2 separate regions of the Homo sapiens genome follow, and region 1 is linked to region 2. Evidence: promoter capture Hi-C in 16 types of primary human blood cells and fetal thymus (Javierre and others, 2016). All regions are on one chromosome and are shown on one strand. Each heading gives the region's core, a stretch centred on a gene start or on the middle of the fragment in contact. The rest is flanking DNA. Distances are from core to core; before and after follow the strand shown.

Region 1 (6,366 bases), core at 951-3,450, 1.9 Mb after region 2:
AGGAAGCAGTGGATTGGAAAGCTGATGGCTTGTGTATGATGATGCTACTAATAATGACATATTCCAGGCAGAAATCCCCTGCTTCTGCTTCCCATGGTCACTTGTGCCAGGCCCGGTTCCTCTTCTCCCTGGGGCTCAAACCTGGTAGCTGCCCCCTCTCACCAATACAAGCCTTGTGAAGATCCTGGAGCAGGGCACAAGCCGCTGACGTCTGCTCCAGTGAGAAGCCCTGCTGGCGGCAGAAAATGAGCGCGTGGCAGAAGAGGTCCAGGGTGATGGCGTCCCTCAGGCTCTGCTCAGGACACCCTAGCTCCAGCAGCTCAGCCAGCACCCTTGGGAGGGAGAGAGGAGTGAGTGACAACTGGGCCTCCTTTCATCACCCTACACCCACCACATGCTTTGGAGTCAGCCATTCCTCATGTTTTCCCAACCTGACCCCTCAGCCTTTGCCAAGAGCTCTTCCCACGCCCCCCTCAGTCCCTACTCCCTCATCTCAGCATTGGTGGTCTTCTCCAGCTGGTGCATGGAATGGACGTCCAGGTACTTCCTGTTATAGTAAAAGAAAAAGAGTATTGGTGGCCGTTACCTATCATGACAAGGCTGTGACAGCTAGTGCGTGAGACTGGGAGTTGGCCACCGGCGTGAAGCTGGGCTCTTTTGCCAGCTTGCTGTGTGACTATGCAAATCGTTAACTCTCTGGGCCTAAATGAACTCTTATGAGCCTCTCCATTTCTAAAGCCTAGGGTTAGGAATCTTGAATTCTTTTTTCTGCTCTGCCACTACCTTGTATGACCTTGGTCAAGTACTCCCTGTGGCCCTCAGTGTCCCCCTCTGTACAATACTCCTTAGCGGCCATGAGACTCCATTTACATTCTGTCTTTGGCTCTTTTTTTCTCACACTGCCTCCTCTTTGGACTGGAGAGGCTGGAAAGCCAACTTCCAGTCACCTGGAGTAATTGCATCTCCAGGCCTCAGTCTCATCTGTAAAATGGGGATGCCCTGGCCACAGACAGGACTGTTGGGGAGACAATAAAGAACGCAAATATTCAGTGTAATTTTTGTCTCTTCACACTCACCACATGCAGATCCGGGGTCGGGGCAGCGGCGGCTGCGGAAAGAAAGCGAATTGGGGAAGGCAGCTGCGGTGTCCTGGCCCGTAGCGAATCTCCAGCAGGCCGGAGAAGCCGCTGTAACTTGCCATCTCATCTCAAGGACTAAGGAGAGGCGCGGGCGAGGGAGGGCTTCAGCAGGCCCTAGGTGCTCTACGCGAGCACAGTAACCACCGGGGTCACACACCCCTGCCTCTCCTCGCCCAAGCAGCCCGGGAGACGTCCCGAACGTTAGTAAGCATAATGACAGGTGGCGCCTGCGGGGGAGCCGGTTTATAAATATTCACGAGCAGACCAGACTGTCCCGCCCTCACCGGAAACAAGTTGGCTCCGGGGTCTTCATCCGCTTTCGCCGCCGCCGCCGTCGTCCACTGAGTCCGCACACTCGCACGCGTCCGCGCGGCCGACCCATGCACTGAGCTGCGATCCTTCCCCGCTTCCCGCCGCAGCTCGGAGAGATGTTCAAGCTCCGACTGCACCCTCATTCCCAAAAAGTGGCTGGTCTTGCGGTTGAGCATCTCGCCGCTCTTCCGTGCCGCGAGGCGCCCCGGGCTCCCGCCGCCTAGGTTCCAGGACAGCCAGCGCTCGGTCGGCGGCTACCAAGGCCGGGCCCGTTCGCCTCGCTCCGGCCAATCTACGCGCGGAGAGGCGCGGCGGGGCGAATCCGTGGGGGCGTCTCCCTCCGTCTCAACGGCGACGGTTGCCAAGGGGGCTTGTGAGGGAAGGAAGGCGGAAAGCGCAGGCTCACGCCAGTGGGAGCGAAGAGAACGCGCAGATACGTGAGAAGTTGCGAGTGCCCACCTGGGCGCCCTCTCTTCCAGGTTGCTAATACGAGGGCCGGTGCTGTCCTCCAGGCTGGGAAGTGGGAGCGCGGTGTCAGTTACTATGGGAACTGCCTCTTGGCCAATCACCGAGAGAAAGAGGAGGTGTTTGGGAAGAAGCCAGAGGACCCGAGTGGCGGGACCAAGCGTAACCAATAGAAGCAGAAGATAAAGAAGTTTCCTCACATCCGGGGCTGCCTTTGGCGCCTGCGCCCTGCGCACCGTTGGGGGGGGGGCAGTGGCGTCCAGTGACGCCCAGTGACGTCCGGTGAAATCCAAGATGGCGGCGCTAGGCTGACCCTCCTGCTGGTGAGGGCTCTGGCGCCGGGGGGGACGGGATCCAGCAGGTGTGTGCAGGGTGGAGGGTGTTTGGGGCTGTGGAACACCAGCCGTTCCCACATCTCTGCTCTGTGTCTTCTGCAGGTGACGGAAGTACCGCCTCCTCCCGTTTGACGCCCCTCAGGGGACCCTGCATCGCTCCAGCCGCCGCGGCCATGTCTGGGCCAGGCAACAAACGCGCCGCCGGCGACGGGGGCTCAGGGCCCCCGGAAAAGAAGCTGAGTCGTGAGGAGAAGACCACCACGACTCTTATCGAGCCCATTCGTCTTGGAGGCATCTCTTCCACGGTTCGTGGGCTCTTGCCTTAACCCTCAGAACTTCCCAGAGCCCTCCCTCTGTTCTCTGGCCAAACTGTGCGGAATCTTACACCCACTTCCCCAAGTTTAGCAAGGTCCGCGTTACAGGACCTTGAAAGAAAGGTTAGAAAGAAGCTCAGAACACGACGCCTGTCTTCCCTTTACAGATAGGAAAACAGGTTTCCAGGGGGCGTGTGACTTGTCAAAGACTAAGGATTTACAAGGGGACAGGCAGAAACAACGTGAGCCTCCTCACAACAAAGACACTTTCGCTGTGTGTTGTCTGAGCCTCCTTAGATTCTGTTAGCGGTTAGTGTGGGAATACCTCCATCTCCCATGCATTGCAGATGCTCTGCTCCTCTTTCTCTCTCTGTGATTGGTTTGTGGGCCCTGCTTGACGCTCTCGTCGGCCCCTTTGTTTCCTTTGGTAGGAGGAGATGGACCTGAAGGTACTACAGTTCAAGAACAAGAAACTGGCAGAGCGGCTGGAACAACGGCAGGCTTGTGAAGATGAACTCCGAGAACGAATTGAGAAGTTGGAGAAGCGGCAGGCCACAGATGATGCCACACTCCTCATCGTCAATCGCTACTGGGCCCAGGTGGATACCTTCTGCTTTCAAAGACCAGGCCTTGATTCAGCTGCCAATCCCCAGATTCCCCTGCTAGGAAAGGAGTATCATGTTGGAAAGCACTAAGGGATTCATAACATTTTTGATGTTTTCTCCTTCCAGCTGGATGAAACTGTGGAAGCCCTTCTCCGATGCCATGAGAGCCAGGGGGAGCTGTCTTCAGCGCCTGAGGCACCTGGGACCCAGGAGGGGCCAACATGTGATGGGACTCCTCTCCCAGAGCCGGGGACATCAGAGCTGAGAGGTAGGACCAGAGTGCTGGGATCTGGGGAGCTTAAGTTCTGGGAGAAGTCCTGGGGAGGAGGGGACTTTGGTGTTGGGCCCCTGAATTGCCTATCTTACTACTTCTCACGAAATGGATTTCATGTTTGGGCAGTAAAGTGCAGTGCACAAAAACACAGGCTTTAGACTCTGACTAACTTGGTTTATAGAGCAATTCATGTTTTGACACCCATTTGTTTCAAAACAGTATTATGGTTGAGTATTAAATATGTATTTGACGCTTCCTAGAAATGAGTGTTGCACTTGCTATAAGGGAGGAAATTATAAACATAGTAAGCAGAAAGTACTGGGGCTCCTGAAACGGAATGATTGTGTGTGCATGCATGTGCGTGTGATTCTAATTATATTGGTAAAGTACAGGAAGCTTCCCTGAGGATGTGATACGCAACTCTGTAGCTTTGAGGAAATTACTTTACCTCCCTGAATTTCATTTGTCTCACTTTCAGGATGGAGATAATAGTGCACTATAGGTTGTGTTGATTAAGTGAACCATGAGTATTGAAGGGCTCAGTCTGGAACTTGGTACAGAGTGGTAGTAACTGCTGCTCTTATCCTCATGAGGGTCTGTCCATTCCTTCCAGACCCCTTGCTGATGCAGCTGCGGCCCCCTCTCAGTGAGCCGGCCTTGGCTTTTGTGGTGGCACTGGGTGCCAGCAGCAGTGAGGAGGTGGAGCTGGAGCTGCAAGGCCGAATGGAGTTCTCCAAGGCAGCTGTGTCTCGTGTGGTAGAGGCCTCAGACCGCCTACAGCGCCGGGTGGAGGAACTCTGTCAGCGAGTGTACAGCCGAGGTGGGTTCTTTGTGCCCATACTGAAGGGGTGTCCATCCCCACCTGCATCTTGATGGCACCCCTTCCTGATTCCCCTAATGCCCGAGTCCAAGGGCGGCCAGAATTTCCCAAGGAATAAATCAGCCATGTTCTTGGAAGAGGTAGGTTAGGCTGTAGATGGGGGTTCCAACTTTGATTCCGGGATTGAATGCTAGAGAGATGGGTTGGAGGAGTTGTTGATGCCGGTAGAGGCTCCTGGCCAGAGGCCCCTCTGGAGCACTTGGTGTGGGTTGCGGATCCACAAGGCATAGCTTCAAGGGCTCAGGCCTTGTAGGTTGACAGGCTTCTCCCACCTTAGTTCTGCCACCCTCACCTGGACATGCTGGGAAAGTGGCTCCCCTCTCTGAGCTGGTTTCCTTCTCTGTGCAGTGGGGATAAAGACTCCTGGCTTTGTCATGAGAAATGGGCAAGACAGCTGGTGGATCACACTGGGTATATAGCAGACTCCAGAATGAGTTAGTTGTTTGCCCCATTGCCCTGAGCTGGGCTCTTACCTGGGCCCTGCCTTCCCAGGGGACAGTGAGCCCCTCAGTGAGGCGGCTCAGGCACACACCCGAGAGCTGGGCCGTGAGAACCGGCGACTGCAGGACTTGGCCACTCAGCTGCAGGAGAAACACCACCGCATCTCATTGGAGGTGAGGAGCCGGGGGCTTTGGGGGTGTGATTAGAATCAGGCAGGATTTGGGTTAGATGGGCACTCAGGGACCTCAGGAACCAAGTCCCCCATCCAAGCATCTGCTCCCTCATTGTTCCCAGTACTCCGAGCTCCAGGATAAAGTGACATCGGCAGAGACCAAGGTGCTGGAGATGGAGACAACAGTGGAGGACTTGCAGTGGGACATCGAGAAGCTGCGGAAGCGAGAGCAAAAGCTCAATAAGCACCTGGCAGAGGCCTTAGAGCAGGTGGGGCAGGGGTGCTGGGGCAGGTGAGGCAAGGCTGGGCCCTTGGGCCTTAGCTCCTCCCCTCTACATCCATTGCCTGTCTGTTTTCTCTCCACAGCTTAACTCTGGCTACTATGTATCTGGGAGCTCCTCAGGCTTCCAGGGGGGCCAGATCACACTCAGCATGCAGAAGGTGAGCGGCGTTTTCCTCCCACCCCTTCTCACAACCTCTTCTCTGTTGCACTCTTGAAATTCCCCTCAGGACAAAGGACAAACATCCATCTCTGAGGCCCTTCCTGGTCACTCCTGCTGCTCTTTTTTTCATGCATTCATATACTTGTTGAGTAGATTTTTGAACACTTAGTGCTAGGCACTAGGCATATTGGCGAGAACAAAATAGAGGTCAAAACTTTCATGGACCAGACAAGAAATAAATAAAAGAATATATCTTTAGGTTCTACTTGTGGTAACAGACAAGAAATCAGTAAAATAGCATATCAGTGTGTTATGAGTACCACAAAGATAAAGCACAGAAGAGAGAGCTAAGAGTGAGTTGGAGTCAGTTGGCATCTGGTGGTCACTGTGCCCTTTTTCCCTTTATTAGCACTTTAGGCCTTTCTGGAATGCCTTCCGTGACTCCCCATCAGTTAAGAGCCTTAGTTCCCAGCACCGACCATGCAGTATTGAATTTTCTCCCATTTTTCTGGGAGCCCTTAGGAAAGTACTTGGTTTGGGGTGTCAGAATCGATCATTGCCCTGCACGGGGTGCTTGGGGTGGAGTGTATGCTGGGGATGTAAGGGAGGCCTGCTGCCACGTCTGGCCCTGCCTCCCATGGCCCTGCCTCCCACTCCTTAGTTTGAGATGCTGAATGCAGAGTTAGAGGAAAACCAGGAACTGGCCAACAGCCGTATGGCAGAGCTGGAGAAACTGCAGGCCGAACTTCAGGGGGCTGTGCGGACCAATGAGCGCCTCAAGGTGGGCTGCTGTAGGGGCTGAGAGGTCCTGGGCCTGTAAGGGAGGGACTGAGCCCTGAATCCTGTTGCTGATCCCATTTGGGCATCCCTGCCCCAGGTGGCCCTGCGGAGCCTTCCTGAGGAGGTAGTGCGGGAGACGGGGGAGTACCGCATGCTGCAGGCCCAATTCTCACTGCTCTACAACGAGTCTCTGCAAGTGAAGACCC
Region 2 (6,194 bases), core at 3,164-5,663:
CAGCCCCCACCTCCAGGAGGCCCTACCCACGCTCATGACCTTGCTATTCTGGGCCTTGTGTCCTGTAGGGAGATGGACAGGAGACAGCTGGGCTTCCAGGCCACCCAGGCGGGGGGCTAGCCGAGGGAAGCCTGCTGGCTCTCCTGCTTGCTCTAATTTCTGGGGCTCCCCAAACCTTGGCCTCAGGAGACTGGGGATAGGACCGGCCTTGAAAGTGGGGGAAGCTTTGGAGAGCCGGGTGCTGGGTTCTTAGTGAGATGGCCAGTGAAGGCTGTGGTGCCCCGAGGTAAGCAGGGCCTGATCCCCTCCTAATCTTCCAGCAGCAACTGGTGCTCTGAGGCTCCCCCTCCCCCAGCCCTGCCAGCCTTCAGGGACCTGCCTTCCAAAGATGGGCAGGGGAGGGGGACGAGGACACCCACCCACTCCTCAGACCAGCATGTCTTGGCTGTTGGGGCCTGAGAGACTTTCCCTCTAAGCCTTTCTTTACAGATGGTTAAACCGAAGTTCTGCACTCATCAGGGACTGGCCAGGGTGTCTCTGTGTCCCATGCTTTTAGCTCCAGCCCTCAGGTGTGACAGGAGGATCACTTTCCATCCCTGGGCGTGGAGACCCCTGTGGGAAGGGATCCCCGAGGGCGCCTCTGGCTCAGCCTCCCTCCATGGCAGTTCACACCCACAGCCTTCCCTAGAGCAGCCCTTCTGCAGCTCCTGGCGGGTGGCTTTCCCTCCCTGGCTTGTTTCCCCCTCTGGGAAGCCGGGGGAGGTAGAAATGAATAACCTTAAAGGCCTGTTGGCAGGAATGTGCTGCCAAGCCTGCCCCCTGCCCTCTGTCTCAGGCTCTCGACTCCCTCGAAGCTGCCCATCTCTCCGTCTGCCCCTCTCCATGTTTGGGCATTCCCACTGCTGTAAGACAGTAGCCCCTGTCACTCCTCCAGGTGCCGGTGGGGAGACGCCGGCCAGCGCCAAAAGCCTTGGCGGGTGTGAGCCTGAGTCCAGCGGAGACGGTGGGTGCTGGGCCGGGTGGAGGTGCCGGGGGCTGTGTCTCTTGGAAGAGAGGCTGCTAATGCTCTCCTGCACCCCCAATTCAGCCCACTGTCCCCCACTCCCCTCAGGTCACAGCAGGATTCTGCTTCAGGGGAGGGGTTTGTTGGAACTGTGAAAAGGAGGCAGGAAGGAGCACCTTGTCCTCAACTCACCCAGGAGGCCGCGCCTCACCCAAGTCCAGGCAGAAGGGATGCATCTGGGAGGCTGAACCCTCAAGTTCCATCCACCCCTGCTGCCATCCCCCTCCCCAAAAGTGGGGGCCTCCCTTTTCTTTGCTCTGCTGTCTCCTATTCTGTCCTCTGCTTCGGAGTTTGAGCCCCAGAATGGAAAGCAGCCTTAAGAAGCCACACTTAGGAAGTCCACATGCCTCTGCTCATTTCAGGAAACAGGCCTAGACAGAGGACGGACTTGAGCCCAGGGCACCAGGCCCCTTCCCCTCACTGACCTTTCACCCTGACTCTCATCCAGCCTTTCTGCCTGCCTGTCCTCCCCTTCCTGCACCCCTGGTACCCTCCCTCGGCTCCTCCAGCAGCTGCCCTGGTGGTAACCAAGAGACGCCCCCATCCTGGAGCAGGGGTGGGGAGGGGCAGCTCAGAGCAGCTGCTTCTCTGAGGAAGCTGACACCAAGGCCAGCATTCAGCAACAACTTGTGGCTTTGCACCCAGCGCCGGGGTCCCCGCCCACCTGGCTCCCTGCTGTCCCTCTTCCCCACTGCTGCTCGGACTTCCCTCTGACCCTGGTGGCTCTGTGTCTCTGCTCCCTTTCCCCCTAGGTCTAGACATCTGTCCTTATTTCCCCCAGACCTGTCCCCAGAAGTCCACCCTTCCCCATTCCTTTGGTCTGGAGCCCCTGCTTGGTCCAGCTTCCCCAGGCCCCGACACCTTTCTGTGGGGTCTGCCTAGCTCCTGCACGCACACAGCATGGGCCTGATCCTGTTCCCCTCGTGGACAGATGCAGCAGGGCAGAGTGCAGCGCAGACCACAGGCCTCTGGGGCTGGCCACAGAAACCCCGTTGGTTAGAGCACAGTGTGGGATGAGGTGACCCTCAGTGCACGACTTGGGGTGACCCCTGCCCCCATCCTGAGACAGTTACCCCTCCCCCTCTGCCATCAGCACATTCTGTAGCCTCTTGGGTTACTTGGCTGCCTTGGTGTCCCATTTTCTTGGGGGTGGGGTGGGGATTCCCTATCCAGGATGGGGGGGCCCTCAGGGCTCTGTTCCCAGAGGCTGAGTTAGAGCGATGGGGAAGGGGGGGGGCAGTTTTGGGGAGAGACAGGCAGTGCTGGCTTTGCTCACCAGGGCCTGGACACTAAATCCCTTGTTGATGGCTGTGGCAACCCCTCCCTAGGGTAGGGTTACCATCTTCGGCCCTGTCCCCTTGACTCTCTCCCCTCACTTCCCCTTGTCCCTCTAGGAGCCACTCACTTCCTCTAGCCCCCAAAAGATGTTCTCCCTTCATCAGTCCCCCAAAGGCTTGGGGTATCTCTGCCACTGCTTCAGCAAATGGGGTGAGGAGGAAGGAGACTGCGGCAATGGAAACAGGCTCCGGGCAGATGAGGCAGGAAGGGGGGTGTGAGGAAAGGGACAGGTGAGGCCGGGGATGGAAGAGGGCTCCGGGAAGAACTGGGGGGATGAGTTTGGAATGGGAAATTCAATGCAGCTGGGGAAGTCGAGGCAATGGGGGGGCAGGGTCAGTAGCAGATGACAGAAAGTGAAGTCTCTCCCTACCCCACTTCCCTGGGGCTGGGGCTACCTTTGCGTCCCTCATGAGTGACATCTCAGGCTGCAGCCCCACTGTTCCCCCTCTGTCAGCAGAAATATCTCTCTTTTCTGACCACCTCCTGCTGGAGTCTCAGCCAGCCAATCCCTGATCTGGTGGAGGGGGGAGCCCGGCCTCCCCCTGCTCCCTCATAAGGACCAGCTGGGGGCCGGGGGGTGGCCGGCTGCTCAAGTGGGACGGGGGTCAGAGCTTTGTGGAGGGAAGAAAAACCTGGAGGGGGCAGGAGAGTAAAAAGAAGAAACCCAGGCAGACAGGCAGTTGGACACACTGAGGAAGACCCCCCACGAGTGGGAACCCCCTGGAAGGAACACACCGGCCCCGGCCCCCAGGAAGGGAGCACAATGGAGGCCGCTCATGCTAAAACCACGGAGGAATGTTTGGCCTATTTTGGGGTGAGTGAGACCACGGGCCTCACCCCGGACCAAGTTAAGCGGAATCTGGAGAAATACGGCCTCAATGGTAAGTGTCCCTTGGAAGAGCGGCTGGTAATTAATGCCCTCCTGCACCCCCAAAACACACGCACACGCATGCACGCGTTTCTCCCTTCAGGGTTTCTTAAGGAAGAGCTGGGCCGTTGTCCAATGCTCGCAGGGGGAAGAAGATACTGAGAAAACAGAGTCCCGAGATCCAGAGTTTTGGGAGGTTTTAATGGGATGAACTTGATGAACCTCAAGGTGGCCTGATTCTCTTAGCCACAAAGTCTTGGGTGTGGGGGGCATGAGGCTGAACCCCAAATGAATCTGTCCTTTTCTTCTTTTTCCTGGGTAGAGCTCCCTGCTGAGGAAGGTAAGTTACTGGAATCCCTGAACTCTCATAAATGACCACCCCCCACCCCGCCCTGTCCCACTCCCTCCTCCCTGCCTCTTTAGATTCTTTGAGCAAATATCCCTTCCCAAAAGGCAAATCTCCCTCCCTAAAGGTTAGAGTCCTGTCCGGGGCAGAAGTCTCCCAGGCGCTTTCTCCTTGAAGCAGCCAACCCTTGAACTGCCCCCCACTTTGCCGAGTCTGTTTCTGGACTCCAGGCGAGCTTCTTAGCCCTTCTCTGGGCACCAAGCTGTCTGCCCACCACCCTAGAGCCTCCCCACTGCAGGCCGGAGTCCAGGGCGCTCCATCCCAGACCTTCACCCACTAGACCTTAACCCGGGGCCCTCCCCTTGCCTCCTCCCCCAGGGAAGACCCTGTGGGAGCTGGTGATAGAGCAGTTTGAAGACCTCCTGGTGCGGATTCTCCTCCTGGCCGCATGCATTTCCTTCGTAAGTGTGGGAGGGTCTCTGGGGGCTGGCTGGGGGTGTGAGGCTGGGATCGGGCGAATGCGGGGCTCGCAGTCACTGGATCCTCCCGTCCGAGTCCCGAGCATCCCATTGTACAGACGGGGCGGGCTGGCGCGCAGCAGCGGGTGTGATTCGCGTCCTCCTCTCTCCTCCCCTGCACCCCAGAGGCAGGTTTTATTTTAAGCTTTAAGGGTGTTCTCAGCCAAAACACCGAAGCTAAGCCACCCTCGCGGCTTCAAGAGCTTGGAGAGCTCGGGTTACCCACCCGAACTCCGGGCTCCGGGTCCCGCCGCGATGCCGGCTGCGGCGCGGGGGGCCACTGCCACTCCCGGCATGCGCCGGGCGGACGGCCGCTCCACCAATCCCCGCGCCCGTCGGCGCCCCTGCCCCGCCCTCCCCAGCCTCCTGACGCTGATTGGTCGAGGGGAGGACTCGCTCCTAGTGGCGGGAAAGCGCGGCGGTGTGATGATGACTCCAAGGAGCCCGGCGCCCGGTCAGGGAGGGCACTGGCATCCCTCATTACCCGCCCAGCCTGGCCTTAGCCCTTCCCCGCGCTCCCTAGGCACCCCCACCCCCGCAGGGCATCTCCAGGGCTCTGCCTCCTCTCCCGCCCTGGGGGCTACTCCCCATCCCGCGGTCCATCTGCATGTCGCGGGTTCTTCCGCAGCATGTGAGCCTCGCTGGGGACTCTGGAGGCAACGAAAGCCTCCCTGTGCCTTGGTCTCCGAACGCAGGCCCCGTCGCGTTAAGCACAAGCTGGCAGGGCCTCTCCTCTCCCTTCTCAGATTTGCTCCTTGACATTTGCCTGCTGCCTGGCGGTGGCAACAGCTGGGGCGGGGCGCGCGCAGGAGGCCCCGTAACCCTATCCCCGCTCCGGCTCCCTCGTGAAACCGGAGCTTCCCTGCCTTGGCCGAGGGGGAGGGCTGCGGGGGCCAGACCGCCTGCGAAGACCACAGGGTTTTTCCTCTCGGGTTTTGGCTCCCGTGGGATGGATGTGGCTGTGCGGGGGGTTGGCCTGAGCTTCGCTTCTAAGCCAGCAGCTTGGTCAGGGAAACCTGAAAGCATTCCCAGCTAATCCCCCAAGTGGTGCAAGTCTGTGCGCGCCCATCCCGCTGAGTAAGGCGGTGGCAGGACCTGCAGTGGATGGACAGACCCTCAGACGGATGTGGGGCCACAGCGCCCCGACGGTGCCCGGCCCTCCTGCTGGCTCCTGCACTCTCCTGCACAGTTCTCCCCTTTGCAGTGGTCCACTTCCTTTCTCCATCTGTTTTGGGGCCTCATTACCTGTCATTCTCCTTTCCCCTGCTCCCCAGGTGCTGGCCTGGTTTGAGGAAGGTGAAGAGACCATCACTGCCTTTGTTGAACCCTTTGTCATCCTCTTGATCCTCATTGCCAATGCCATCGTGGGGGTTTGGCAGGTTAGCGTTGACCCTTCCTTACCCCTTCATGTCCCAACAGTGAAGAAGAGGCCAACCCTCCCTCCAGTCTCCTCCTCCTCCATCACCTCCCCCATACTTGCCTCTTCCTCTGGTCCTATCCCCTGGTCTGGAATGGGATGGAGTGTGGGGAAGAGGTGGGAGACTGTGACCCACTGTCACTTCCTGGCTATGTGACCCTGAGCAAGTTCCTTCATCCCTCTGAGCCTCAGTTTCTTCATCCATAAAATGGGGCTAGCAATCCAGTGTGAAATCGACTAAGATGATGCATGTTCCTGGCACACAGTAGGAATTCAATAGACGCTAGCTTGATTTCCTTCTTCCACTGACCTGACCACCCCCTACATGTCCTGTCCTCTGCTTCCTGGTTTGTTTTGTTTTGTTTTGTTTTTAGGTCATTTCCAAAGTGAAAACCCAAATGCTACCTTGCTTTGGTTTTAAGAAATGTCAGGCTATAAGCCATTTTTTGGTGCTCACTGGTTTCTGAACACTGAGGATAGAAATAGCCACTTTCATACTTTGGGAGGCCGAGGCGGGTGGATCAGTTGAGGTCAGGAGTTCAAGAGTAGCCTGGCCAACATGGTAAAACCCCATCTCTACTAAAAATACAAAAAAATTAGCTGGGCATGGTGGCAGGTGCCTGTAATCCCAGCTACTCAGGAGG

Evidence for each region. Contacts are between HindIII fragments. The CHiCAGO score rates a contact against its expected background, and 5 or more counts as called.
Region 1: a contact is called between the fragment with the promoter of RNF40 here and the fragment with the promoter of ATP2A1-AS1 in region 2, in 1 of 17 cell types (total CD8 T cells). The highest score is 8.2, in total CD8 T cells.

The regions. Positions count from the first base shown.
Region 1 is chr16:30,760,122-30,766,487 of GRCh38, forward strand. It overlaps RNF40 (ring finger protein 40), which reads left to right and starts at 2,201. Exons shown (of 20, transcript NM_014771.4): 1 at 2,201-2,239; 2 at 2,354-2,556; 3 at 2,997-3,164; 4 at 3,297-3,438; 5 at 4,058-4,264; 6 at 4,817-4,938; 7 at 5,060-5,206; 8 at 5,304-5,378; 9 at 6,042-6,161; 10 at 6,258-6,366. The coding sequence starts at 2,425. PHKG2 (phosphorylase kinase catalytic subunit gamma 2) reads left to right here. Exons shown (of 10, transcript NM_000294.3): 10 at 1-1,055. CFAP119 (cilia and flagella associated protein 119) reads right to left here and starts at 1,941. Exons shown (of 9, transcript NM_001014979.3): 1 at 1,424-1,941; 2 at 1,077-1,108; 3 at 485-547; 4 at 163-332. The coding sequence starts at 1,627. RefSeq lists enhancers at 1-1,065, 1,030-1,179, 1,770-1,949, 1,905-2,542, 2,030-2,289 and 3 more and a silencer at 1,264-1,493. The HindIII fragment of the contact is 4,015 bases long and covers 1-3,838 here.
Region 2 is chr16:28,875,508-28,881,701 of GRCh38, forward strand. It overlaps ATP2A1-AS1 (ATP2A1 antisense RNA 1), which reads right to left and starts at 4,414. Exons shown (of 2, transcript NR_046290.1): 1 at 4,035-4,414; 2 at 3,450-3,597. It overlaps ATP2A1 (ATPase sarcoplasmic/endoplasmic reticulum Ca2+ transporting 1), which reads left to right and starts at 2,981. Exons shown (of 23, transcript NM_004320.6): 1 at 2,981-3,282; 2 at 3,592-3,609; 3 at 3,994-4,076; 4 at 5,408-5,512. The coding sequence starts at 3,165. RefSeq lists enhancers at 1,952-2,021, 2,032-2,121, 3,367-4,140 and silencers at 4,211-4,260, 4,281-4,630. The HindIII fragment of the contact is 3,157 bases long and covers 4,277-6,194 here.